Linked DNA regions of Homo sapiens: all the other regions are linked to region 5. The links are contacts of gene promoters, found by promoter capture Hi-C in blood cells and fetal thymus (Javierre and others, 2016). All regions are on one chromosome and are shown on one strand. Each heading gives the region's core, a stretch centred on a gene start or on the middle of the fragment in contact. The rest is flanking DNA. Distances are from core to core; before and after follow the strand shown.

What was found. The method cuts DNA at HindIII sites, captures the fragments that hold promoters and counts their contacts. A CHiCAGO score of 5 or more calls a contact.
Region 1: a contact is called between a fragment that was not itself captured here and the fragment with the promoter of H2BC17 in region 5, in 17 of 17 cell types (total CD8 T cells, non-activated CD4 T cells, M2 macrophages and 14 more). The highest score is 66.5, in total CD8 T cells.
Region 2: a contact is called between the fragment with the promoter of POM121L2 here and the fragment with the promoter of H2BC17 in region 5, in 1 of 17 cell types (total B cells). The highest score is 6.4, in total B cells.
Region 3: a fragment that was not itself captured here is called in contact with the fragment with the promoter of H2BC17 in region 5 in 12 of 17 cell types (naive CD4 T cells, naive CD8 T cells, total CD8 T cells and 9 more); the score reaches 9.7 in naive CD4 T cells.
Region 4: a fragment that was not itself captured here is called in contact with the fragment with the promoter of H2BC17 in region 5 in 1 of 17 cell types (naive B cells); the score reaches 6.2 in naive B cells.
Region 6: a contact is called between a fragment that was not itself captured here and the fragment with the promoter of H2BC17 in region 5, in 8 of 17 cell types (total CD8 T cells, total CD4 T cells, naive CD4 T cells and 5 more). The highest score is 8.9, in total CD8 T cells.
Region 7: a fragment that was not itself captured here is called in contact with the fragment with the promoter of H2BC17 in region 5 in 1 of 17 cell types (naive B cells); the score reaches 6.1 in naive B cells.

Annotation. Positions count from the first base shown.
Region 1 is chr6:27,158,646-27,162,274 of GRCh38, forward strand. TRT-AGT6-1 (tRNA-Thr (anticodon AGT) 6-1) reads left to right here and starts at 3,626; the gene lies at 3,626-3,629. The HindIII fragment of the contact is 878 bases long and covers 1,423-2,300 here.
Region 2 is chr6:27,309,741-27,313,713 of GRCh38, forward strand. POM121L2 (POM121 transmembrane nucleoporin like 2) reads right to left here and starts at 2,533. Exons shown (of 1, transcript NM_033482.4): 1 at 1-2,533. The coding sequence starts at 2,430. It overlaps LOC105375107, which reads left to right and starts at 2,429. Exons shown (of 3, transcript XM_011515048.2): 1 at 2,429-2,452; 2 at 2,583-2,874; 3 at 3,105-3,973. The coding sequence starts at 2,429. The coding sequence ends at 3,472. RefSeq lists a silencer at 2,590-2,884. The HindIII fragment of the contact is 14,547 bases long and covers 1-3,973 here.
Region 3 is chr6:27,115,200-27,119,297 of GRCh38, forward strand. No RefSeq gene overlaps it. Among named protein-coding and RNA genes, the nearest start is that of H2BC11, 16 kb to the right of the region's middle. RefSeq lists an enhancer at 12-111. The HindIII fragment of the contact is 4,621 bases long and covers 1-3,774 here.
Region 4 is chr6:27,293,765-27,297,749 of GRCh38, forward strand. TRQ-CTG5-1 (tRNA-Gln (anticodon CTG) 5-1) reads left to right here and starts at 1,669; the gene lies at 1,669-1,740. It also overlaps the pseudogene TRS-ACT1-1. The HindIII fragment of the contact is 2,197 bases long and covers 524-2,720 here.
Region 5 is chr6:27,891,399-27,895,631 of GRCh38, forward strand. H2BC17 (H2B clustered histone 17) reads left to right here and starts at 2,027. Exons shown (of 1, transcript NM_003527.4): 1 at 2,027-2,493. The coding sequence starts at 2,065. The coding sequence ends at 2,445. H2AC17 (H2A clustered histone 17) reads right to left here and starts at 1,787. Exons shown (of 1, transcript NM_003514.2): 1 at 1,301-1,787. The coding sequence starts at 1,751. The coding sequence ends at 1,359. RefSeq lists enhancers at 913-1,456, 1,061-1,110, 1,457-2,000, 2,021-2,260, 2,651-2,790 and 1 more and a cis regulatory region at 4,126-4,233. The HindIII fragment of the contact is 3,889 bases long and covers 1,859-4,233 here.
Region 6 is chr6:27,200,425-27,204,212 of GRCh38, forward strand. No RefSeq gene overlaps it. Among named protein-coding and RNA genes, the nearest start is that of TRV-CAC6-1, 3.8 kb to the right of the region's middle. The HindIII fragment of the contact is 4,360 bases long and covers 1-3,430 here.
Region 7 is chr6:27,231,403-27,235,349 of GRCh38, forward strand. No RefSeq gene overlaps it. Among named protein-coding and RNA genes, the nearest start is that of TRV-AAC5-1, 2.1 kb to the right of the region's middle. The HindIII fragment of the contact is 2,580 bases long and covers 824-3,403 here.

The DNA of each region.
Region 1 (3,629 bases), core at 612-3,111, 730 kb before region 5:
GCTGGACCAATGCTGAAAAACTGTAACCTTTGATCATCTGGAGAAAATTAAAGAAATTTGAGTAATTGAAGGAATTTGGGTGGGGGGGAATAATGGCCCAGAAGAACAGCCCCCATTTCTAGCCCGTTCAGTTTCTAGAATGAGTTCTAAAGAGCCAAGTAGACTGGGTGAGGCGGGAGTGGAGGAGAGCTGATCTGAGATACGGAGGTGGCTGGAAAGAAGTAGTTGGTGCTACCTAGGACCAGTAGGAGGTGGCTGGAGACAGGCAGATCCCCAGAGGCGCTTCCATGAGCCCAGTTCTAGTTAGTAGCACAGCACTCTGAGAACACATTAATGGCACTTCGTCCCTCCTGGCCCTGGTGGAAGGTTAGTATTCAAACAGGTGTGGTGGCTCATGCCTATAATCCCAGCACTTTGGGAGGCCGAGGCGGGCAGATCACCTGAGGTCGGGAGTTCGAGACCAGCATGGCCAACATGGTGAAACCCCGTCTCTACTAAAAATACAAAAATTAGCTTGGCATAGTGGCATAGGCCTGTAGTCCCAGCTATTCGGAAGGCTAAGGCACGAGAATTGCCTGAACCCAGGCAGTGGAAGTTGCAGTAAGCCAAGATCACACCACTGCACTCCAGCCTGAGTGACAGAGTAAGACTCGGTCTCAAAAAAAAAGAATACTCATACTTTTAGCAACTTATCAAAAATTTCAGCAAAAGAGATTTGTTCTTTCCTTCTTGGGGCTAAAATAGCCCCCATTTCTTCTCCAACTGTCCATCCAGCTGACATGGATTCTGAAACTCAGAGATATTGTAATTGAGCTGAGCTGCCTTATACTGTAGGATATCATCTCTCCAACAGGTCAGGTTCTAGGCCTCTTCTCAGTAATTTAATAGCATTTGTAGTGGTTATTCATGTTCACTTGTATCACATTCTACTTCAATTTTCTTTTTAGTCTATTTTATCTTGACTCAGTCTTACAAGAGTGAAGACAGGGATCAAGTATGTATTGACCCTAAAGGATCAGTTCTTGTCAATTATTTTGCCACAAGTGAATGATAAAACTGCTAAAGCAATAAACATTTTGATCTTGCAATTCTCCAGAACACATTTTCTCAGATCTTACTGGCCTGAGTAGCAGAAATCTATGGACTCTGACTCAGAGGCTATCTCTTAGTGAGAGAGCTAGGGTCCTAGATCTATTACAGAATAAAATTGTAGTGACAAGTGAGTAATAGGGCTCAATAAAACCCATGCTGTATGATTTGCTCGAAAAGTAGAGAGCTTGCTTGGCGTGTACCATATGATACTCAGTGCAAAGCACATGTTTATCTTAGAGGTGTGAAGTTCTCTGGTTCACAATAATGTTTTGCAGCTTTGAGTGAGCATTGCTAGAAATCTGGTATAAACAGGGGAATTGTGAGATTAAAAGCTTGCATTTTATGAATGCACTAATATTGGTATGGAAGTATCTTACACAGTCTGCCAACCACATTTTCAGAAAGAAAACTGTTTTACTCTACCTATGGCATTCATGGTCTTGAAATGACTTTTTAATATTTCTATGTTTTATCATTCTCATCTCTCCATGGAAATTAATGAAAGTTACCACCTTCTAAGATTGTTCTAAAGATTTAAGGGTGGTAAATGCATGATGGCACTAGCTCAGTAAGGTACAAACAAACAAACAAAATAATAAAATAAGCCATTTTTGGAGCTAAATAAATAAATATCATTGCTACTTAAGTGGTGGAAGGCCTTCATGCAGTAGTAATATTGCAAAGACTGGTACCAGACTCAGCATCTATTTAACTTGACTACAATCCTGTGCTTCTTTGATGCTGATAAGGTAGTTCTAACAATAATAAGAAGGGTTTTGTCTGTCCTCAGTATTGAGGCTTATTTGAAGATCTGAGCAAGGCTTTTTATAAGGCGGATGTTGGCCAAAATGTTTGCTATGATAGGCCATAAGTTTAGGGAAGACACAGATGTTGTGGGAAAAGGTAGGTTCTAGAAAGAATAGCCCCAAAAGTCAGGGAATCAGGAAAAGAACTTTCCTTCTAATGTCAGCAGAAATCCGGATGAAACACTTTAAGCAGGGGTTTCGTAGTGTTAATTTCTCTCAAGGGTGCAGCAATCTATCTGTAGCCACACCACTCCAGCACCTACTTTATGTTGAAATGTCTGCTTGTATCTTGGAAAGATTTCCAAAAGGAGAAACAAAGGGCTTTTCTTCCAGGGTTTTACACATACCAAGATTTATGAAACACCTGTCAGTGAGAAACAGAAGTCGGGGAATACATAACTAAGCTTCACAAAAAACCTCAGCCAATAAAGCTGAAAAATTGGTATAACCTGGCTTTGTGATTAGCTAGGTAGTGAGTAGAGGTTCATGACCCACAGGAAATAAATCAGAAGCAACACCAGGCTTGGTTAAAAAATAAAAACTCAACCTCAACCTAAGTAATTTCTCATCTTTCCAGGGTCTTGCATTTTGTGGATGCTTAATGAATGCATATGCAAAGCACCAGGCAGTTATTTAAATATTTCAGGATATTGGTTTCATCTGCTTTTCCCCATGCTAAGCTGCATTCAGCTAAACATTCCATGACTCCTTCTGCATTCATTAAACTGACAAAGAACCTGAGATAAAAGGTCATGCAACTCTGTGAGGCCCAAGTGAGAGGTTCCCACAGCATCCTGTGAGGGCTATCACATTGTACTCTACTTTGTTCTCTACTTCTCTGTATCATCCACGCAGTTTTACAATCTATGTGGGTCTAGAAATTGAGTCTATTTTAACCCAGCAGGCAAATGAGCAGAACAAGACTATGACAGAAGCAAAGATATCCATCCAGGAGAACTCCCTGTGTACACCTAACTCATTGTTTCTAACAGCAGATCTCCTGTTGAGACCAAAGCTGTCTTTGAAACAGAGGGTCTCAAGGTGCCTAGTTTGGGTAAGTGGGAAGCAGGGTGACCACAGATCTCCACGACATCACTGTGTCCTCGTCTAGGCTCACTTTCTTGTGCCAGATTAGATAAAATAGAAGGAAGCATAATGGTTTTACTCAATTGCAGTGAATTAGCTCAGAAGGTAGTGTCGTGGGTTCTATAACCCAGCGGTAAAGAGATTGGTTTCCATATCACTTGTGTTTTTGTTTGTTGTTGGATTTTTTTAGTTGGTTAGTTTGTTTTGGGGTGTTTTTTGTTGTTGTTTTATCTCCCTGTAGAACATAAATTCAATAATGGAAGAAAATTTTGCTGTTTTATTCAATGTTCTTTCTCCAATACCTAGAAAAGTACCTGAAATGCAGTAATGACTCAACATTTGTGGACAGAATGAATGCACGAACAGAGAAATAAATTTAAAATATGTTGCGATATCCAATATTTCCTGTAGGGGGAGATAGTCACCATGAAATAGAAATTTCACTCATTTCAATTTGAAATAAATTCTGAAATCTTGCATTGAAGAAAAGTATTTTTTTTAGTGTTGGAATTGCTGCTTTGTTGCTGGTTCAGAAACACAGATGTGCTTTCTTTGTCACAAAATTAAGTACACTTTTGTCAAATTGATACATTTTACAAAAATGTTATAAATACGATATATCTGAACATATGCCCAACAGGGGCC
Region 2 (3,973 bases), core at 1,283-3,782, 580 kb before region 5:
GGTTGGCAATGCCACTGCTGAGCTCCCAAAAAGAAAAGAACTACTGACACTTGGCATAAGGGCTGGCTGGGAAGGCCCTTGTTTCTGTCCATTTGTGGCACCAAATGCAGGCTGGGGATTAGCTCCTTGGGATAGTGGGAAAGGTGGCCTTGAGCTTGATCCCAAGGGACTTGTGATTGCTGGAGTCAGGTTGGAGATGCTGGGGGTTGATGCAAGCCAGTTTGTGGATACTAGGGCAGAGGCAGGCAGAGGGCTGCCCATACCCCTGAAATTAGCAGTGCTGCTTCTAGGGGATATCTGTACAACACTGGAAAGGACCTGGGTAAACATGGTGACTGTATGCACAGTAGGAATTGTAGGATGGTGGTGTGGTGGGAAAATGAATCCTGTGGCTGGGGTGAAGTCGGCCCTGAAGGCCTGAGCAGTCCCAAGCAGGAAAGTGTCGCAAGTGGAAGGGACAGAATAAGTGTTGCCTACGGCACTGGTGACATTCACTACACCAAAATCCAAAGGTGGCTTAAAAACAGAGTCTTTAGATGTGCTGGCTAGGGTGGTGGACATGACCACAGAGGTGGCCTTGACCAGGCCATGGAAATGATGGGTAGAAGCATGAGTAAATGGAGGAGGGGTCTGCTTGGAGGAGAAAGGAGCTATCATGGGCGTAGTTTTAAGTGGATCTATGCTGCCAAAGATAGGCTTGAAGGTAGGAGTTAAGGTACCCTGAATTGTGGAAAGGGAAGAGATTGAAGATGCTGCAGCTGTGACTGAAATTCTGGAATATGAGGAGCTTCCAATCTCGCTGTTGTGCAGGGGCCCCAAAATCGGTTTTAACATGAGGTGAGCAGAAGTTGCATCAGGAGGTGCAGATGCAGAAAGATGGGATGTTGGGCTACTCACCATTCCAAGCAAAGTACTTTGGATGGTGGGTGGTGCAGGTGGGTCTGGGGGCATGGGAGACCTGTCAGCCTGAGAGGTTGAAGGCGGCCAGGTGGTGTCAGTAACTGGTAATGTGGGAGAGGTGGGGGTCAGCAGGATGAAAGTAGCTGTGGGCTTTGAGTCTGGAGAGGTGCCTGGAAGGAGCTCTGACTGTGAGCACCCAGGTGGGGTCGGTAGGCTGGGTGTCTTCAAAGGAGAATGGGCCACACTGGTTGCCTCTCCCGTGGACTGTGGAGAGGCCAGTGGACCTAGAGACTTCTGCATTTTTCTTAAGTTTTCCAACTGAGGATTTGCTCCCTGGGTTAGATCTGTTTCTGAAGAAGGCAGAGCAAGAGACAAGGAAGGCTGAATAGCAAGCCAAGTCTCAGGGAAAGGGTCTGTGTTGACCTCAGTTGTATCTTCTCCTGCGTTGTTGCTTACCTGTAGCTCAGCTTTCTTCCCCAAAGTCAAGTTCTCATCAGAGACTGCATAACCAAGCTGGGGAGGTGGGATCTCTGACACCAGGTTCTCAGGGCTAGACGGCAGCTGTGGAATCTTCTGGTTTTGCTGCCCAGAACTTTCAGATCCTCCTAGGGACTCAAAATCTGATACCAGTGGGACTGGAGAGGAAGGCCGATGACAACTTTTTTCCTTTTTTATTGGCCACTCTGGTGTCTCGAATGATACACTGGGAACACTTCTCTTCCAAGGGTCTGAGAAATTTCTGCAAGAGCTGTAAGAGCTGCCAATAGCATTCCTTTTGGAGCTGAGGGTGCCACCTCTGTATATGCTGGCCAAGGAGCTCATGGAGGAGCAATTGGGCCTCTTAGTCAAGCTGTGATCTGAGCCCCAGGAGTGGAGACTTCTCTTCAGCGGCCCAGGCCTGGGCACAAAAGAAGTGAGGGTTCCATTTTTCATCAGGGGCTTAAATGCCGATGGTCTGGTCTCTGGACTCCTTCTCTTACTGTCCAGACTCTCAGGGAATAGTGGTTCTTCCAACCTCCCTTTCCCTTTTCTGCACTCTCTGAGGGCCCTCAACACTGTCTCCTTTGAACATGGATCTGCGAGCTCCTCAGAGGGCGGGAGTCCTGCAAGGGCAATTACATCTTCAGGAGAAGTGGAAGGGGGCACTCTCTGGTCAGGAGGAGTGATCCTGATGGTCACTGGGCTCCAAATTGGCCTGGGATGTCGAAGAGACCAAATAGTCCGCTTTAAGTAACTTTCCCACCAGTCTGAAGGGAGAGGCCCCAGGGGGGAATTCTGGGACTTCTTCATGGGAAAGCGCCTCCAGGCCTCGTTGGCCAGCCACGTGGTTGGATTGGCAGGATCCAGGTTTGGCCGCCTCCTCACAGGTCTATACCGTGGGGCAGGGTGGGCGCGGTGGACGAACTGAACCCGATGAACTTGGTGAAGGGGCTGAGGTGGCCGGCGTTTCGTGGGCCTCTCGGGCAAGTCGGTGCGCACCTGGGCTGGGGACGAGGGCGAAAGTTCCAGTTTGCTCAGGAAACTGCCCATGAGGAGAGATGAGGCGCGGGCAGTGAGTTCAAGCACGGTTTTGGCTTCCGAGGTTTCGGACGTCTGCAGAATCGGACAGAGTCGAAGAGCGCAGTGTTCGGTTGACGGTTGGGATTCACGCGCTAGGAAAGCGCGAGTCTCAGGGTGCTTAGCACTCTCCAGGCCCGGCACCCGCGGGAACGGGGGACACGCGGGACTTCGGCAGTCCCAGTAACTTGCTTTGCTGTTCTGAGACCTCAGCGGGGCGGTCAGACCTCTGCTGTCTCCGCAGCGAGTTGCAGTACTTGGCGCGGGGAGAGGAACTCGAGAGGAAGCTCACTGCGCCTCGCCCCTGGCGTCGGCAGCGGCTGTCTGGGACCCTGTGGTCCGGATTCACCAAGTGGCGCAGAGCTGGAATCGAGTGGGTGCACAGTTTCCAGGCTCCGACTATTACTGGCCTCGAAGGTACAGGCTCAGGCGGCTCAGGGCCCCGGCGCAGATCTGTCGGCCCGCGGGATCCCCGGAGTCTGAGTGGGGAGCACTATCCGCACCCCGTAGAGTGAGTGCGGGCGGCTTTCGCAGGTGCTCAGGACTGGAGATCTGGACCGGTGGCTGTGCCGCCCGGATGGCATTTGTGGCACTAGCAGTCGGGAAAGCAGCTGATTGAGGATTTCCGCGTTTCTCTTTTTTTGCAGATCGTGACGCCGCCAGTAGGTGTCAGTCATTTGCCGCACAGCCACCTTTGAGATCCACCTGTGTCTCCCAGCGGCCGAATCCAGGTTTCCTTCCTATTCGCACTTGGAGAACTCATGCAGATTGCCGTCAGGAGTGGCCTCAGAGATCCGGAGTGGGCGAATGGGAAATCGCATCTTACGGCCCAGAACCTGAGCCCTCCACAAGCACTTGGCTCAGTCCCTTGCTCAGGCCACCTCCTGTTCTCTTCTGCTCTGTGAAAGACACTGTTAAGAGAATGAAAAGACACGCCACAGACTGGAGAAAATATTTGCATAATACGTATGTATCTGCTGAAGCACTGGTATACAAAATATACATAGAATGTTAAAACTCATAATAAGGTAAAAAATTAATGGGCAAAATATTTAAACAGAAACCCCGCCAAAGAAGATATGCAGATGGTAAACAGTATAAAAAGATGCCAAACATCATTGACATATGCTATATGTCAATATTTAGCTATATATAACTAAACATCAGTAAATACTTCTGATTGCAATTTAAACATCAGTAAGATACCATAATTGCAAATTAAACATCAGTAAGATATTACTACACACCATTCAATTGGCTAAAATTCAAAACACCACATGCTAAGGAGGAGGTGGAGTAACAGGTACTCTCATTCATTACTGATGAGAATGCAAAATGGTACAGCCACTTTGGAGGACAGTATGGCAATTTCTTACAAAGCTAAAACACAGTCCTACAATACAATTCAACCACCACAATCCACGTGTTTATCCAAATGAGCTTAAAGTGAATGTCCACATAAGGACCTGCATGTGAATGTTTATAGAAGTTTTATTCATAGTTGCCAAAAATTGGA
Region 3 (4,098 bases), core at 214-2,713, 780 kb before region 5:
TAGTGTGTTATTCAGAATTTTCTAGAAAAGGGGTGGGGGGAGCTCCCAGAACCCTATAGGGTAACTTCTGAGTCATGTCCATGGCATTTGTAAACTGTCATGGCGCCGATGGGAGTGTCTTTATTCTAATGAGCTGTGAGGGCAACTAGAGGTTGCTTTGTCACCATCTGCTGGTTTCAGCCAGCTGTTTTGTTTTGTTTTGTTTGAGACTGAGTCTGGCTCTATTGCCCAGGCTGGAGTGCAGTGGCTCGATCTTGACTCACTGCAACCTCCACCTCCCGGGTTCAAGCAATTCTCATGCCTCAGCCTCCCTAGTAGCTGGTATTACAGGTGCATGCCACCATGCCCAGCTAATTTTTGTATTTTTAGTAGAGATGGGGTTTCACCATATTGGCCAGGCTGGTCTCGAACTCCTGACCTTAGGTGATCTGCCCACATCAGCGTCCTGAAGTGTTGTGATTACAGGTGTGAGCCACTGCACCCAGCCAGGGTTTTTTGTTTTTGAGACAGGGTCTTGCTCTGTCGCCCCAGCTGGAGTGCAGTGGCACAATCGTAGCTCACTGCTGCCTTGATCTCCCAGGCTCAAGCAATCCTCCCACCTCAGCCCCACAAGCAGCTGAGACTACACATGTAGGCCACCATGTCTCGCTAATTTTTTTTTAACTTACATTTTTAGGGATGGAGTTCTCACTATGTTGCCCAGCTGATATCGAACTTCTAGGCTCAGGGGATCCTCCCACCTCAGCCTCTCAAAGCACTGGGATTATAGGTGTGAGCCACCACTCTGCTGAGGTTTTTTTGTTGTTTTTTTTTTACTGCATCCTGTTTTTGATCAGCATGGTCATTACCGGTGCTTGGAAAAGAAGTCCTGCTGATCTCCTACCTCACTTTGGAAAATTCTTTTCAAGATTAAGTATATGACTATTTATAAAGAACTTAGTACAGTGAGACCAATGATCAATTATTTAAAGTTGTTTTACTCTTGTTAGTGTCATTATTAAATTTTTTAATTCTTTTCATTATTCCGTATCCCATGTTGTTGTATTTTCACAGTGAATATGAGTCTGCATCCAGTTATGGCCAATGACTTCATATTCTTTTGTGATCTATGGAGTTTCAGATGTGAGTACATTCAGACAAGACAAGACCATCACAAACCACTGAGATATATTCATCTCTGCTGCTTGTGACCTGGGGTCCTCCTTCTTCCCCTCTGACTGCCACTATTGGGAGGCAGAAGTAGGAAGAACAACAGAATGGGCTGTGGGTGTAATTTTATCATTTTTTTTTAGAATTACTTTTTTTTTTTTTTACATTTTTGCTTTTAAAAATAGTTTTGCTAAAGTATAATTGGCATATGATAAACTGCACATAAAGTATACATGTTAATGAGTGTGACATAAGTATTCATATGAACCCGTTACCCTAATCAAGACACTGAACTTGCTGGGCACAGTGGTTCACGCCTGTAATCCCAGCACTTCAGGAGGCCGAGGCGGGCGAATCACCTGAGGTCAGGAGTTCGAGACCAGCCTGACTAACATGGTGAAACCCCATCTCTACTAAAAATACAAAAATTAGCCGGGCATGGTGGCATATGCCTGTAATCCCAACTACTCAGGAGGCTGAAGCAGGAGAATCACTTGAACCCGGGAGGCAGAGATGGCAGGGAGCCAAGATCACGCCATTGCACTCGAGCCTGGGCAACAGAGCAACACTCTGTCTCAAAAAAAAAAAAAAAAAAGTGAACTTATCACCTCTAAAATGTACTTGTCCCCCTTTGTAATACCTTTCTCCTATCTCACTTTGTCCCCCAACTCAAAGGAACCACTGATCTAACCTTTGTCACTGTAGATTAGTTTGTATTTTCTAGTTTTGTAAAAATAGAATCCAGTATGTACTGTATTTTGATCAGTTTCTTTTACTCAGCATAATTATTTACTCAGCAGTCCTTGCTGGTTTCATGATGTAAGTGGTCGTGTGGGGAAAGTCCACATGGCCAGGAGCTTCAAGCTCCTCTAGGAAGTGCGGGCAGCCTCTCAGAATTAAAGGCGTCTTCCAGCCAGCAACCAGCAAGAAGCGGGTGTCCTCATACCTAAAGCTGCAAGGAAATGAATTCCGCCAACAACCTGAGTGAGCTTGGACATGGATTCTTCCCCAGTCAAGTGTCTAGATGAGAATGCATCCTGGTGGGACACTTCAATTAGTCTTGTGAGACCCTAAGCAAAAGACCTAACTAAGTCATGCCCAGACTCCTGATCATTTATTATCCTGAGATAATAAACGTATGTTGTTTTGAGACCCTGAAGTTTGTGCTAATGTATTTTGCAGCAACAAAAAACTAACATATTTTAGGCTGGGCACAGTGGCTAACACTGTAATCCCAGTGCTTTGGGAGGCCTAGGTGGAAGGATCACTTGAGACCACTAGTTCAAGACCAGCCTGGGCAATAGTGAGAAACTGCACCACCCCCCCACAACCCCTCGTCTCCACAAAAAAATTTCTAAAAATTAGCTGGGTGTGGTGGCACACACTTATAGTCCCAGCTACTCAGGAGGCTGAGGCAGGAGGATGGTTTGAACCCAGAAGTTCAAGGCTACAGCGAGCTATGATTGCACCACTGTGCCCCAGCCTGGGTGACAAAGTGAGACTCCATCTCAAACAAAAAGAAAAAGAAGAGTAACATATTTTGAATCAACAGTTTGTTTCTTTTGTTGCTTAATAGTATTTCTTTGCAGGGATATACCACAATATTTTAGCCATTCATCTATTGATGAACATTTGGATTATTTCCAGATTTAACTAATACAAATAAAGCTGCTATGAGTATTTTTGTACAAATCTTTATATGGACACATATTTCCTTTTCTCTTGAGTAGATACCTAGAAGTGCCATGGCTGAATCATATGGTAGTATGATTAACAACATTAGTTATATGATTAACTTTTTAAGAACCTGTCAAAATGTTTTCCATAGTATTTACATGCATAGGACAAATTTATAAGAGTTCCAATTCCGCTATGTCCTTTCCAATACTTCACCCTCAGTCTTTTAAATTTTAGGCATTCTAATAGATGTGTAGTGGTATTTGATTGTGATTTTAGTTTGCATTTCCCAAATGACTGATATTCAAAGTATTTTCCTGTGCTTATTTGCTAACAATATGTTTTCTTTGAAGTGTCTGTTCATATCTTTTGCCCACTTATTTAATTGGGTTGTTTATCCTCTTAGTGTTGAGAGTACTATATTAAGTATTGTTCATTCTGGATACCAGTCCTTTATCAGGTAAGTGCATTTATAAGTATTTCCCCGAGTTTGTGGCCTGATTTTTCATTTTCTTAACACTGACTTTCAAAGAGCTATTTTTAATTTTGAAGAAATCCAATGCATGTTTGTTCTTTTATGAATTCTGCTGTCATATCTAAGAAATCTTTGCCTAATCCAGTGTCATAAAAATTTCTTACATTTTCTTGTAGAGGTCTTGTAGTTTTAGGTTTTATGTTTAAATGTATGAACTGTTTTAATTTTTGCAAGGTATAGACACAAGTTCATATATATATATAACATATTATATATATATATATTTTGCATGTGGATATTCAATTTTTCTAACACTACTTTTTGAAAAGACTATCCTTTCCACCAGGATGCCTTTGGGCCTCTTTCAAACATCAGTTGTTTATATACATGTTGGTTTGTTTCTGGATTCTCTATTGTGTTCCATTGACCTACTTGCCTATCTTACAACCATACCATGCTGTCTGGCTTTCTGAAGCTTTATAATAATTCTGTGAAATGAGGTAGTTGATAGCCATCCAGGTTTGTTCTTTTTCGGAGTTGTTTTGGCAACTGTAGATCCTTTTCATTTCCATATTAATTTTGGAATCAGATTGCCAATTTCTGCAAAGAAACCTCCTGGGTTTTGACTGGGTTAGTGTTGAATTTGTGTATTCGTTTGAGAATAATTGTTATCTTAACAATACTGAGTTTTCTGGCCTATAAGCAAGTTTTATCTCTCCAAGTATTAAAGTCTTCTTCAATTTCTCTCAGAAATATTTTGTAGTTTTCAGTGTATAGATATTTCACATCTTTTCTCA
Region 4 (3,985 bases), core at 372-2,871, 600 kb before region 5:
CTAAAGCAACTAAGAAATTGTTCCTCCCTGTAAGACAAACAGGAATTACGTTGAAGAATTTAATACTTTCACGGAGAAGGGGCGAGGATGCGGGTGAGATGAATAACAAAAGCACAGATTTGCGGTCGGCCGGTTAGCTCAGTTGGTTAGAGCGTGCTGCTACTAATGCCAGGGTCGAGGTTTCGATCCCCGTACGGGCCTTTGGCTTTTTCCCCCCTCGAGAAATTTGGTTTTCATGCTCTAAGATGATTCAAATTAACCGTCCCCATTTCTTAACGAACCTAGAACCTAAGTTCGTTTCCGAATCATCTGAAATGCTACATCTCCCCAGGTAATAATCTTCTTCTTCTTCTTCTTCTTTTTTTAAATGTTCTTTCTGTTTCCTCCAGGAATAAGGGTTGGGGACAGAAAGCTGTTCAGAGCAGAGACCTCCAAGACTGGGAGCCTGCTTAATGAAAGGGGGGGGGGGCGGGGAAGAGTTCAAGGAGTGGAAAAATAACTGGCATTTTTTTTAAAAAAATAAAGCTTATTTGATTTCAGATTTTCCTTCCAAATTAGTCCTGAAACCTACCTTCTTTCTCAAATTGTAGAGACACAAGATAAAGAGAATAAATCCTTAGAAGGTTGTGGATATGTGTCTCTGAAAACCCTTTCGAATTTAACTGACAGACGACATTGTCCTGTGAGGAAGCTATCACTTTAAACAAGGAACACAGACTTTTTGTTTTGTTTTGTTCACAGAAACCGATTCTGTGTGTGTGTGTGTGTGTGTGTGTGTGTCTGTGTTTGTGTTTTCACATGGGCTCCTGTGTGTGTCACAAAGGGATATGCGAGGGAGAAGCAGGGAGTTTTCTTTGTGTCCGTTTGGAAGTTTACCCTGCACATATTTCTCATTGGTGAAGGGCAGTGGAAGGACCAGGGGAGCTATGCACTGTCCTGGGAAACTCCAGAGGGACCTTTGTCTACCCTTCCCCTTCTTTCCCTGAGTTGCTATCCTAGGGTTGCTGGGATCTTCCTCTAACCCAGTAGTTCAAGTGCATTTATTTCAGCTTTCTGTAAACAGCAAAGTGGCTCCCCTGTGACTTCGGTAAAATCTTTCCATAACGTGTCCTTAAAAACGCTACATGTTACCCTGGTAAAAACGATTTTTGAGAAAATAATTAGATCTATAACGAAAAGGAGTAAAGCATCTCAGGTATCTGACTCAAATTTCTCACCTGTAAAATAGAGATTATGGGTCCCATCTCACAGCGTGGTTGTGAGCCTCACAGGTAAGGTAACAATAGAAAACACTTGTCACAAAAACTGGCACACGGTAACCTGGCATACTGTGTGCCTGGCACCTGGCACACAGTCTTGTTTAACAATCTCACTTGTCTACCATTGATGAAATAGAGGCCGAGGCCCGGGGCGCCAAGCTCCTAAAGCACTTGAAAGGAGTGGTTTAGGATTAGAGGACTCCTGACAGTTGGAAGTCAACGTTTTCCATTAAGACTGTGGTGTAAAAGGTGTTGAATGTAGGCATGTGGCAGGTAAGCGTCTTCTTGACTTAATCCTCCAAGAGGAAAAGCAGAATGCACCCATCACCCAAACTATGGGGCGGAGGGAAGGAACCTAAAGTGGAGAAATAGGTCACCTATGACTTTAGGAAATGCTAGTTCAGCTTCAGGTTCCATGGTGTAATGGTTAGCACTCTGGACTCTGAATCCGGTAATCCGAGTTCAAATCTCGGTGGAACCTTGGATTTAGTCCTCTGCAGTCAAATCCCCATCGTCTCTCCACAATCTATACTGTTGCTCATACAAATCACTCGACCAAATTTTATTCCTGGTATTTCCACGTCACATCTCTTGAGCGGAGTATCTTTAGCTGCCAACCAAATAATAACTTTCTTTTTGCTGCGCACAATTTGTTCTTTGGAGAAAAAAGAGAGAAGCCTCAAAAGGAAATGCACGAGGCAGTCGCTCGAGTCCTGCTGGAACTGCAAATCAAAGTCTCCAGAAAAGATCTGCAAACAAGTGAGGAGACAATAGATAGGAGGCTAGTGAGAAGAGAGAAAGGAAATTTGGTGATAGTCACGAACAGAGAAAAGCTGGGATGGAAACTGAGGAAAGGACTTACCCACTAAATGGGTCTGGGAGAGGTGACAGTCGCCGAAGCCGAGAGAAAACTGTCCTCAGACAAGACCACAAGGGGATAGAAGCTCAACTTGTGAGGGCTGGGCAGATAGAACAGGTGACGGGAAAGATACAACTGGCGATAGTCAATAGTCAATAGAGATAGATGCTGTTTCGAGTTTGCACAAGCAAGTTTTACTTGGACAGAGAAGAGGGGGAAATGAGCTGAAAAGACTCCCTTTCCCAGGATAACAGAGTTTACTCTACGCCCTCTCCCCGCCAATCTCCCCAGCCACCAACCTCCCGCAGCGTTTCCTAGTGAGGGTTCCCTGAGCTCATTGCTGGGCGCTCAGCAACTCGGCTTTCTTGGCATTTCCGTCTGGGCATGGACAAGCTCCTGAAGAAGGGGTTTCAGAGCTCGGACCCTCTTAGACAGATTGTAGAAGTTCAGTCACCCGGAAATTGCTGGGGCGGTTTGGTTTTGGAGAGAGGCGGGGACGAAAGAAGAAAGCTGTGAGCGAGGAGAGAAGGCAGGGAATGTGAACAGGAAAAAGCTCTTGCGCTAAGGAATGTCAGAGAAGCCAGCGCCCGGTGCAGCCGAGAAGCTTAGCGACAGGGTTGCTGGGCCGGAGACCACGAGATCCTAGAGGCTACAAAGAAACATTTCCCCATATGTGTCTCCCCTACCGCGCACTAGCTCCCTATGGGATGTGAATGCTCCCTACTTCCATCTTCCCCTGCAAATCATTCTCGCCTTTTAGATAATATCTTACCGTGACAGAACAACTGGAAATGCTGGTGTCTCCAAAGTCTTCTGTAAACAAGACACAGAGATGTGTGTCTCAATTGCGTATTTTACACGATTTTATGAAGGAACTGACAAATTCCTCATTTACTTCCGACTAATAACATTCCATTTTTAACAAAACGGAACGTACATATTGGGCCATGGAAAGTTAGTGTTTTCATTTTTTTTTACAATTATTGAGACTCGTAGGAAAATTCTTGGACTTTTATCAAATATGAATACAAATACAAATATGGATATCCGTAAAGTTATATATTTTACGTCCTCCCAAATCTCCTGCTCGCCATCACTTTTATTTATTGCTAAAATTTATTTATTAAATTTAGATAAACGTAATGAGAATGTGTTGAAGATTCCACTTTAAATAATGCACCTTAAATAATCATAAAAACACCTTTTGGAAGGCTCGGACTTATTCAAAACCACAATCTACTGATCTTTTTGTTGTTAATTCCACTGAACCTTTCTTATTCCGGCTATAAGAAGTATTTATCCGCGGACAATGAATTGATGGAGAAAAAAATATTAACAGCCATTTCACTAAAAGATGCATTTCCAATGCAACTCTACTTTTCGTGTATTCTAAATTACTTACCAAAATCGTTGATTTGTGTTTGTTATTGTGTGCCACCATTGAATGTAAAGGTAATTCAAACCAGAAGAAAAACGGTGAAACTCTTGGGGATTTATGGTCAATGGACATAAAAAAAAAATTAGAGGTTTCAATTTATATAAGTATTTTCCGTTGCTGTCAGTTATGATAGCGTTTTTAAGCATAAAAATACATAATATTGGGATAAAATTCTGTGGCAGAAACAGAAAAGAAATACATTGGCAGCAGAAAAAGGATTCCCCCCACCCCACCCCGCCGCCTCAATTTTCAGCTGCTTAGCCTTCAGTAAGAAGGACTGTAAGGCCTAACATGAGATCTGAGGAATGAGTAATGAACTAAGGCAGGTGAAGTGAGGGCAAAGAGAAGAGTTAAAAGAGTGCTGAGGGTGGAAAATGAGAAGGAGAGCATGGAGCTTGGGGAGAAAAAAAATTCACTGTAGTTGGAAAG
Region 5 (4,233 bases), core at 777-3,276:
AGTAGAACAACGTATTTGCTAGTATTTCCAAAAAGTAGTTCCGTTTTGTAACTGCTTAATTAAATCTTTTAATGACTGTACCAAGACCCAGAACAAAAACAATTTAAACTTAGGCTGGCACATTCTCTAAAACACCAAAACTTTAGTTTTGTCCAGTGTGGTGTGGGGAAGGAGTTTGATAGGTGCTTGACTAAATGATACCAATAAATGGTATCTGACCTCTTCATTAACTGAGTTTAATGCAATCCAATGGCTGATTGGATTAATTATGTAAATTATTGCTTAATTTCATTAGCATGCGCGGAATTACAGGTTTGGGTCAGTGATTAGATTTTTGCCAGTGAATCTGGGTAGTTCTGACAACAGCATTTTATTAGGATGGAGATTTTAGTTGATCAAAGAACTACCAGGTTCTGGTATTGATAAAGACCCATAAAGACAACAAAAAGGTTAGTTTAACATTTATTATATTCACAGGAGCAAATGATCACCAGAAATACTTTTGTTTGGGTTTTGTTTTTCTTTTTTTGAGACGGGGTCTCGCTTTGTCACCCAGGCTGGAGTGCAGTGGCGAGGTCATGGCTCACTGAAATCTCAAATTCCTGGGACTCAAGTGTTCCTTCTGCTGTCAGTCCGCCAAATACAGGCGAGGGCCTCGCGCCTGGTATTTTTTTTCTTTCTTTTTTTTAGATGGAGTCTCGCTCTGTCGCCCAGGCTGGAGTGCAGTGGCGTGATCTCGGCTCACTGCAACCTCTGCCTCCTGGGTTCAAGCGATTCTCCTGCCTGTCTCCTTAGTAGCGCTCGCCACCACGCCCGGCTAATTTTTGTGTTTTTAGTAGGGACAGGGTTTCACCATGTTTGCCTGGGTGGTCTCGATCTCTTGACCTTGTGATACACCCTCCTCGGCCTCCCAAAGTGCTGGGATTACAGGCGTGAGCCACCGCGCCCAGTCATTTTTTTTTTAAGAGGCAGGGGTCTCGTTATCAGGGTGGTCTCGAACTCCAGGTCCCTAGAGATTTCTCCCCTCCCCACCCACCTGCCTCAGTTTCCCAAAATGCTAAGGACGCATAAACCACCGCGCCCGGCCCCAAGTTTTTTAAAGACCCAGGACAGTTTGTGGGGAGGGGACAATTAAGGAGGTTCCTTCATGTTATAAGGTAGCAGTTGGATAGTATTTACTAGGCCTGATTCAATACTTTTATTTTACCCAATAGGAAAGTAATGGCCTCAGTGCTTGAACTCGGCCACAAATTTCTGATAGGTTTGGAGAACAGAGTGCTCAGTTCTTCCGTAGAAATGGTGGGTGGCTCTGAAAAGAGCCTTTTGTCTTGTAAGTTTACATTTTTAAAGTTCAGCCCTTACTTGCCCTTAGCTTTGTGGTGGCTCTCAGTCTTCTTGGGGAGCAGTACGGCCTGGATGTTAGGCAGAACACCGCCCTGAGCGATGGTAACTTTACCAAGCAGCTTGTTGAGCTCCTCGTCGTTGCGGATGGCCAGCTGCAAGTGGCGCGGGATGATGCGGGTCTTTTTGTTGTCGCGGGCTGCGTTGCCCGCCAGCTCCAGGATCTCGGCAGTTAGGTACTCCAGCACCGCCGCCAGGTAAACCGGCGCGCCGGCCCCGACCCGCTCAGCGTAGTTGCCCTTGCGGAGCAGGCGGTGCACTCGTCCTACAGGAAATTGGAGCCCAGCTCTAGAGGAGCGGGTTTTGGCCTTGGCGCGAGCCTTGCCGCCCTGCTTGCCACGTCCAGACATGGTAAAACGACCTGTGGCCTAAGTCAGAAAGTGAGTGAAAGGAACCTACAGGGACGCGCATTTTATAGCAGCTGCTGGGCGCGAAAAAGAAGCTGGGCCATTGGCTAAGCTTGCAGCTTCCTCTTAATGCAAATGAGCTTTCTGAATATACGTGTTTTGATTGGACTATATTGATATTAACGTCATCTGAGTAACTTCCAATCAGACAGAAGAATTTCTCAATCTCATCTGCATATAGACTTGTAAATAAATAGGGCATAACCCAGCTTGTCCTCATTCTTGTTATTTGAGTGCTCTTTCACTCTCCTCCGCCATGCCCGACCCGGCTAAATCTGCTCCTGCCCCCAAAAAGGGCTCCAAGAAAGCCGTAACCAAGGCCCAGAAAAAGGACGGCAAGAAGCGCAAGCGCAGCCGCAAAGAGAGTTACTCTATCTACGTGTACAAGGTGCTGAAGCAAGTCCACCCCGACACCGGCATCTCATCGAAGGCCATGGGCATCATGAACTCCTTCGTCAATGACATCTTTGAGCGCATCGCTGGCGAGGCTTCCCGCCTGGCGCATTACAACAAGCGCTCGACCATCACCTCCAGGGAGATCCAGACGGCCGTGCGCCTGCTGCTGCCCGGGGAGCTGGCCAAGCACGCCGTGTCCGAGGGCACAAAGGCCGTCACCAAGTACACCAGCTCCAAGTGAGCTCTCGCAGCTGCCAGCAATCCAAAGGCTCTTTTCAGAGCCACTCACGCTTCCAGAGAAAGAGCCTGTGCATTTTGCTTGTAGTCTTTTGGGTGGACTCCGGCCGGCCTCCATTAGGAGGGAAGACGGCGGGAAAAGGTAAGCTAAGCTCCCTAGGCTTTTTGCGTGTGAGTATAGACGCTCCATCAGACAAATTTAGCTTGGGTTCTTAGATACCCTTGGGGAAAAAGGCTTGCAGTTGTGCTTTAAGCTATAATTACAAGTTTGCTTTCGGTTTTCGGTTACTCTTTCCTTTTGTGTTGTTTTTTTTTTTTTTTTTTAAATGGAGTCTTGGCTCTGTCGCCCAGGATAGAGTGCAGTGCCGCGATCTCGGCTCACTGTAAGCTCCGTCTCCCGGGTTCAACCAATTCTGCTTCGGCCTCCTAAGTAGCTGGGATTACAGGCGCCCGCCACCGTGCCCGACTAATTATTGCATTTTTAGTAGAGACGGAGTTTTACCGTCTTGACCAGGCTAGTCTCGAACTCCTGACTTCGTGATCCACCCATCTCGGCCTCCCAAAATGTTGGGATATCAGGCGTGAGCCATCGCGCGCGGCCGGGTTATTCTTTCAGTGCCTGTAACGTCCCCCTTCTTTGATTGGTCAACGCTCTATTTGAAAAGCCCGCCAAGGGCTGCAATTTGCCAGATAGTCTCATCCGGGTTGTTTTTCGAAGAGGTTCTCCCGGAATGGAAATGACCGTTATCTGCAGGAGTGCATCGGACTCTGGCGCCAAGAGCTGGAAGCTGTGAATTAACCGTCCCTCTTACTGCAGTTGTACGGATCCTGGGTGACATTGACTTACCGGTGTCCATTTTCCATACACTTTAGAGAATAGGCATCTCGTCTGGCATCGCTGCAGATATGTTAGGGTGGGTTGAAATTATTGGTGTCAAAGCGGGACGGGAAACATTAAAGGCTAAGGAAGCTCCTTTAGGATAAAATGTTGAACAAAGAACCTGGCAACTTGGGAAAGCCGCTTTTTTGCAATGTTAATCAGTTGGCCTTGGGGAGGGAGGTGTGCCAGGATTAGCTGGGGCGGGGGCAGCGTTCAGGCTGGGATTTTAAAGTCCATGATTAGGAATCCTGAGATAGAAGTTGGAGAACCCCGCGTTTAAAGAGAAGCGGACCCCAGAAGAGATCACAGAAATAGGAGGTAAACCAAGAGCGTGCGAGTACAAGGGAGTGGAGACTTTTCAAGGCATGATCCCCTCTTCTCAACAGTGCCTGAATTCTCATAGCATTGCATCCTCTGCCACTGCGTTATCCCCTCTTCAATAAATTACTTCTATTGTAAATCTTTAGCAGCAAAATAGCAAGCCCCTCCACAATTCCACTCCAGGCTTTAAAATCACCCCTTAACTTTTCCTTTATTTTCCTGACGTCACTTCCTTTGCAGCTATGGGTGGAAGGCTATCTCGGACGAATAGTCTCGTCTCTGTCACAGGTGACAAACAGCCCCGAATTATGCCAATTGGTTAGTGGGTCGTTCAAAATACATTGTAGGATTTGCCGTTCACTTCCCTAAAATGTTCTCTTCCCCAGTCCCCGTACCTTGTCATTAAAGTTTGGTGCCTCGGGCTTGGCGACAGAGCTTATCGACAAGCTAAGTTACTTGGAGAGCAGTCCCCTGATTTCATCATGTTCTTTAACTTGGCATCACATTTGCCCCCTCCTTTCATTCCTCTTCGCTCTCTTTTTCGAGATTCGTTTCTCCCTGCCCATCCCGCGTCCTTGAGAGAACATCTGA
Region 6 (3,788 bases), core at 1-2,500, 690 kb before region 5:
AATTTTTCTCCTCATCAATTAATATAATAATGTGATTTTCTTCCTTTGGTGTGACTATGGTACATTAATTACGTTGACTAATTTTCAAATGTTGAACAACCCTAGCATTCTTTTTTTTTTTTTTTTTTAGACGGAGTCTTGCTCTGTCATCCAGGCTGGAGTTCAAAGGCGAGATCTTTGCTCACTGCAACCTCAGCTTCCCAGGTTGAAGTGATTCTCGTACCTCAGCCTCCAGAGTAGCTGGAATTACAGGCACATGCCACCATGCCCGGCTAATGTTTTGCATTTTTAGTAGAAACAGGGTTTCCCAGCGTGGGCCAGGCTGGTCATAGAACTCCTGACCTCAAGTTATACTCCTGCCTTGGCCTCCCAGACCTCTGAAAGTGCTGGGATTACAAGTGTGAGCAACAACGCCTGGCCATGAACCACCCCTGCATTCTACTTGGTGATTATCTTGGTTTGCTAGGGCTACCATAGATGGGTGGACTTAAACAATGGAAATGTATTTTCTCGCAGCTGAGCCTAGAAATCCAAGAGCAAGGTGTCAGCCGGTTTGATTCCTTTTGAGGTAGCTCTCCTTGACTTGCAGAAGGCTGCCTTCTCGTTGTGTCCTCCCATGATTAACCACTCAGTCTGCGTGTTGCCTGTGTCCTAATCTCTTTTTTTTTTTGGAGACCGAGTGTCGCTCTGTCGCCCAGGCTGGAGTGCAGTGGTGCAATCTCGGCTCACTGCAACCTCTGCTTCCCGCTCAGCCTCCTACCTCCTGTCTCAGCCTCTCGAGTAGCTGGGATTACAGGCGTGTGCTAATTTTGTCAGGCCTGGCTGAATCTTGTATTTTTTTTTTAAAGTAAAGACAGAGTTTCGCCATTTTGGCCAGGCTGGTCTCGAACTACTGACCTCAGGTAGTCTGCCCGCCTCGGCCTTCCAAAGCGCTAGGATTACAGGCATGAGCCACTGCGCCCGGCCCCTAATCTCTTCTTATAAAGACACCAGTAATATTGTATTAGAGCTCATCCATATTCCCTCATTTTACTTTAATAACTTCTTTAAAGATCTTATCTCCACATATAGTCACATTCTAAGGAACTGGGAGTTAGGACTTCAGAATATACATTTTGGGAGAACACAATTCAGCCAATAACAGTCATAGTGTATAATTCTTTTTCTCTATTACTGTATTCTATTTGATAATATTGTGTTAAAAATTGTTGTATCTGTGTTGATGAGTTGTATTGGTCTGCAGTTTTCTTTTTTGTGCTGTCTTTGTCAGCCTTTATTTATTTATTTATTTTTTTGAGACGGAGTCTCTCTCTGTCACTCAGGCTGGAGTGCAGTGGCGCGATCTTGGCTCGCTGCAAGCTCCGCCTCCTGGGTTCACGCCATTCTCCTACCTCAGCCTCCCAAGTAGCTGGGACTACAGGCGCCCACCACCAAGCCCGGCTAATTTTTTTGTATTTTTATTAGAGAAGGGGTTTCACCATGTTAGCCAGAATGGTCTCCATCTCCTGACCTCGTGATCCGGCCGCCTCGGCCTCCCAAAGTGCTCGGATTACAGGCGTGACCCACCGCGCCTGGCCTATTTTTATTTTTTTGAGACAGAGTTTCGCTCGTGTTGCCCAGGCTGGAGTGCAATGGAAAGATCTCGGCTTGCTGCAACCTCCATTTCCTGGGTTCAAGCGATTCTCCTGCTCAGCCTCCCGAGGAGCTGGGATTAAAGGTGTCTGCCACCATGCCCAGCTAATTTTTGTATATTTAGCAGAGACGGGGTTTATCCATGTTGGCCAGGCTGGTCTCGAACTCCTAACCGCAGGTTATCAGCCCGCCTCGCCCTCCCAGAGTGCTGGCATTACAGGCGCGAGCCACCTAGCCTGGCCTTAAACAAGTTCTTATAAAAAGAGAGAGGAAAAGTCTCAGGATTCATACTCTTGGGATGTAAATAAATGTCTCCAGAGTGGAAGATAAGATAAGCATCTCCGTGTTTATAAGCCTTAAAATGTCTCCATGGTTCCAGGAGAGAGAAATTGTATTATCCTTCAAATGAGATAACACTTTTGAAATGTGAGAAGCAAATTGGTCTAGGGAAACCAGAACATTCACTAATGTGTCAATTTCCCTTGCCCAGAAAGCCAAACCATGCAGAACATGAAAATATTCACTTCCTGACAACACCTTTCAAAAAGAGAGATTTAAGGTAGTCTGATGTCTCATTCTATTTTCACTAATTCTTTAAATATGAAGACTTTTTCTTTTTTTCTTTTCTTCCTTTTTTTTTTTTTTTTTTTTTTCCAGATAGGGTCTTATTCTGTCACCCAGGCTGGAGTGCAGTGGAGTGATCTTGGCTCACTGCAACCTCCATCTCCCAGGTTTAAGTGCTCTTTCCTCCTCAGCCTCCCAAGTAGCTGGCACTACAGGAGTGCTCCACCACACTCAGCTAATTTTTTGTAGAGATAGGGTTTCACCATGTGGCCCAGGCTGGTGTTAAACTCCTGAGCTCAAACGATCTGCCGGCCTCGACTTCCAAAGCATGCTGGGATTATAGGTGTAAGCCACCATGCCCAGCCTTGAGGACATATTTTCAAATGTATTTTACATTTTACATTTGCCCAGTTTTCCAATTTTTAGGCAAAACATTTATCAAACAAAAGATGGCATCTTAAGCAGTTTTTTCTTTCTTATTTTATTGGTCCTTAAGGCTGATTACTCCTTTTGTGAGCTATTTCTGAAGACAGTTATTTGTCAGAAGACTGTGGGGATTTTTCTCTTATACTTATTCATTTATACAATCCAGAAATTAGCAGGATCAAAACTAGTGGAAACACATAGACACTTACAGCTTTTTATTTTAAGGTCAAAGTACTTACAACATTTTAATTTTAATTTTAATTTTTTGGGATGGAGTCTCACTCTGTTGCCTAGGCTGGAGTGCAGTGTCATAATCTCAGCTCACTGCAACCTCCACCTCCCAGGTTCAAGCAATTCTTTTGCCTCAGCCTCCTGAGTAGCTGGGATTACAGGCATCTACCACCACATCCAGCTAATTTTTGTATTTTAAGTAGAGACGAGGTTTCATCATGCTGGCCAGCCAGGCTGATCTTGAACTCCTGACCTCAGGTGATCCTGACCTCAGCCTCCCAAATTGCTGGGATTACAGGCGTAAGCCACCGTGCCCGGCCTTAAAACATTTTTAATAAGCCCACAGAGTCATTTAGCAAAGGAAGCCCACTCTTCCTTCATCCTGCAAAGTTAGTATACAGCTGCCAGAAAGAAAGACGGCTAAACTTCATCCTCTGCAAGCTATCTGTTTTTTAAACATTATCCTTATGGCCTAAGCAAGGGAGAAAAACATCTTTTCTCACCAAGTTCATGGCTGAGGCCTCTATAACAAAATACAGATTAAACAAGAGAAAAGCATACAAGTGTATTTAACATAAGCTTTGTGTGATATGAGAGACTAGAAATGAAGACCTAAAGAAACAGGGAAACATTTGTAGTTTTATGATAGGTTGACGAAGAGAAGATAGTTATGCAGAAGTATAATTGTACAAAGAGGGTGTGATGTAAGGATAATAAACTGGGGGAATTTAGCAAGGCTTACTTGTTCAGGTTCTTCTGTGTGTCCCTGTGTCTTCAGAGAAAAACATGTTCCTTTCCTCCAGTTATAGGAAGGGCACCTCTGGAATGAAGATCTCCTGACCTGCTTTAGGGGAGAAGGGCTACGGAAAAGTGAGAGTGACCTACTTGCTTCTGTGGTTTTGTCAAATGTCAAGATGTCATATCTCGGGGTAGCA
Region 7 (3,947 bases), core at 864-3,363, 660 kb before region 5:
GCCGAGGGTGGTGGCATGCGCCTGTAACCCCAGCTACTCGGGAGGCTGAGGCAGGAGAATCGCTTGAACCTGTGAGGCGGAGGTTGCAGTGAGCCGAGATCGTGCCACTGCATTCCAGCCTGAGCAACAGAGCAAGACTCCGTCTCAAAAAAAAAAAAAAAACCACAAACAGTAAAGCAAAACACTGATATGGTCTGCTGCACCCAAATCAAAGAAAGCCACAATGGAACAGTAAATAGACAAATACAACCAAAGTAGAAGATACTTGAAATATTTACAAATGAAAATAACTTAATCTACATGATATAGTAAGAAGCCATTAAAATCAGCAAGATCAAACAGCAAGCTCAATAGAAAATGTGTAAAGAAGCTGGGCGCGGTGTCTCAAGCCTGTAATCCTAGCACTTCGGGAGACCGAAGCTGTCGGATCACCAGGTCAGGAGTTCGAGACCAGCCTGGCCAATACGGTGAAACCCCGTTTCCACTAAAAATACAAAAATTAGCAGGGCGTGGTGGCAGGCGCCTGTAGTCTCAGCTGCTCGGGAGGCTGAGGCAGCAGAATCGCTTGAACCCAGGAGGTAGAGGTTGCAGTGAGCCGAGATTGTGCCACTGCACTCCAGTCTCGGTGACAGAGCAGGACTCTGTCTCAAAAAGAAAAAAAGAAAGAAAAGAAAATATATAAAGAATAGGGACAGGGTCCTCATCAAACCCATGATAAGAAGAACCTGAAAAGATTAACATTTTAAATATTTAATATTATCAATATAAAATGCAAGATAAAATAAGTTATTACTCAACCTACATTACATTGGAAGAATTAGAAAGCTTGATGTGTCCATTATTGCAGAAATGGGAATATGGAAGCCCTCATATCCTGCTGGTGGAAGTTTATATTAATGTAGCCATTTTGGAAAGCAGTCTAATACTTTTTACTCAAGTTAAGATTGACACACTCAATGACCTAGGTATTCGGCTCCTAGGTGTATATTCCCCCTCATGTCACAAAGATATAGATTGTATCATATGTGGATGTTAATTGCCTCACTATTTTTCCTCTTCCAGAATCAGATTCAGCCTTGAAGCCAACATTGAACAGTAGATACGTGAAGTGTGGTAAACACATAATATTAAATATTATGCAACTATGAGATGTACTAGAGTATATGTAAATGTACCAATCTTTTTTTTTTTTTTTTTTTTTCTTGAGATGGAGTCTCACTCTTTCACCCAGGCTGGAATGCAATGCCATGATCTTGGCTCACTGCAACCTCCACCTCCCTGGTTCAAGGAATTCCCCTGCCTCAGTCTCCCGAGTAGCTGGGATTACAGGCACACGCCACCACGCCCGGCTAATTTTTTTTGCATTTTTAGTAGAGATGGAGTTTCACCATGTTGGCCAGGCTGGTCTCGAGCTCCTGACCTTGTGATCTGCCTGCCTTGGCCTCCCAAAGTGCTGGGATTACAGGCCTGAGCCATAGCGCCTGGCCGCATGTACCAATCTTAAAAAGAAATTTTTTTTTAAAAAGATACTTGGCCGGGCGCGGTGGCTCACGCCTGTAATCCCAGCACTTTGGGAGGCCGAGGCGGGTGGATCATGAGGTCAGGAGATCGAGACCAGCCTGGCTAACAAGGTGAAACCCCGTCTCTACTAAAAATACAAAAAATTAGCCGGGCGCGGTGGCGGGCGCCTGTAGTCCCAGCTACTGGGGAGGCTGAGGCAGGAGAATGGCGTTGAACCCGGGAAGCGGAGCTTGCAGTGAGCCGAGATTGCGCCACTGCAGTCCGCAGTCCAGCCTGGGCGACAGAGCGAGACTCCGTCTCAAAAAAAAAAAAAAAAAAAAAAAAAAAAAAGATACTTAACACAATAAGATTTTCCCTTCTGTTAGCACTAATCATTCTGCTCTCTGGCATTCAAAATCTTGCTACTTGCTACTGCTCATCATTTTCTCATCTTTTTGTCCCTGTGTATTTATGTCTTTAAACACCCTTAATGCTTTGTATAAGTGTAGTTTGGAATAAAGAGAAAGCAAAAGCTGTGCTTAATTTGCCATCATTATAATTAGGTCTATCTGTGACTTACTATGATTTTTTCTCACCATGGAATCCTAAGGATTGGTAAAATAGTGTGTGGTGATATCCACTTGTGGTGATAGGGAACCATCATTTTATTGGGATCAAATACCAAAGAGTCTAGAAAATAAAATTTTACGTCAAATTTTCTTGTCTCTCATTTCACCACTTCAGTCTATTGAGGTTAAGCTGAAAGAACAAATATCACATCCAGGACAGAACCTCATTTGCAAGCTGCTTGCTATTTTTCTGACCACTTTCCCTAAGTTCTGACAAATGCTGGCTCAGTTACTACTATTCCGCCTTCCTTACCGCTCCAACTTTTCAAAATATAGAGCTAAAAGCCAGATCCACATGAGCTGCCCTAGAAAGACGCAAATGCCTTTATATCCTGGGCATTTTCTATTCCTGGGGTTCTGGACTCAAGACCTTCTCAGGCCATCTGAATCCCTGGCCTACTCTTTGTTGGCTGAAGCTGGCAGCTTTCCACATTTTTCACAGCTTCCATGCTAGTCTCAGAAATCAGCTGTTAATTTGGTATTCTGAATGTTTGGCAATTGTAAGCACTTGGGCTTTGTGGAGGGCCCTTTATGGAAGCCAGAAAAAAATGAGGAAATGTTAGCCAGACCCCAGAACCCTGTAGTCTGCTGGAGCAGGCAACCAGATGATAACAATTGTAAAATAATTCATTGGTCTCTCTATTATGAAATTTAAAAAGCAGGATAAAGGGATCAGTCCTTGGTTTATTTTGGATCTCCTGCAGAGCAAAACCATGACCTTCTGCATATAACACACAGTGATAATCACTACACTAACACAAAATGTCATAGCTGAGGACAGGTACAAATGCTAGAAAAAAAATGGCTACAGTAAAATCCAAGGATAGTCTCACTACAAGATAAAGTAAGGAGAGTATTTCAAGTGCTAAACAATTTTATATGCATCTCAATTGGCACAAGTTTGAAAGACCCATCAATTACAATACACTGAAAAAAGGTAAGTTTAGATATCCAAAACTGAACTCTTGATTGTTACTTGTTCTCATTCATTCATTCACTAAAGAAATGTTAATTAATTCTCTACTAAAAGTCCTAAGCCAGAGACTATTAAGTAGCTGGGAATAAAGCAGTGGACACGACAGACAAAATATCCTTTTCCTCATGGAATTTATGTTTTAATTCCTATCAAATAGCTGTTGATGATCAAATATGCTATCTTTTGACGAAAATTTTTACCATAGTTAGCAGAACTCTATCGCTTCTTTAGGATTTATAAAATCTAGCCTACTAGATGCTTTTCACTATGCTAAGGATGAGATAATTATGGATGAGGAAGCTTATCCTCATGTTCATATATATATATGTATATAAAACAGCAAAAAATACATAGTGTGAGAAGCATATATACATATATATACATATGTGTAAATATACATATGTATTTATTACCAATTACCATGTATGATATATAGATATTTGCTCATTGGTAACTGATCCTAATGAATACGGTTGTTCTGTCTTGATTTTAAACTTCCCCTTACACACCCAAGCTATTTATTTCTTGTTATACGCCTTTGCATGAACACTGCGTCTGCCTTTTGTTTCAAACCTCAAGAAAGAGTCTCATTTAGGAGTAAGCGGGACTTTGAATGAATCTCACTGACAGGCTGCTAGCATGAAGAAAAAAATACTCGAGGTCACCAATATCCTGCTTAATTTTCAGTCATCGAGAAATGAACATTAGAGCGTCTTATGAGAGCAGAGAGCAGAGAACATACCAAAAAAAAAAAATGAACTGAAATAAAATTTCCCGAGAGACTGCCTGATATTTCCCCGCCCTGTGCTTCTGAAGGAATTGAAGCTTCAGGAGAAGCATTT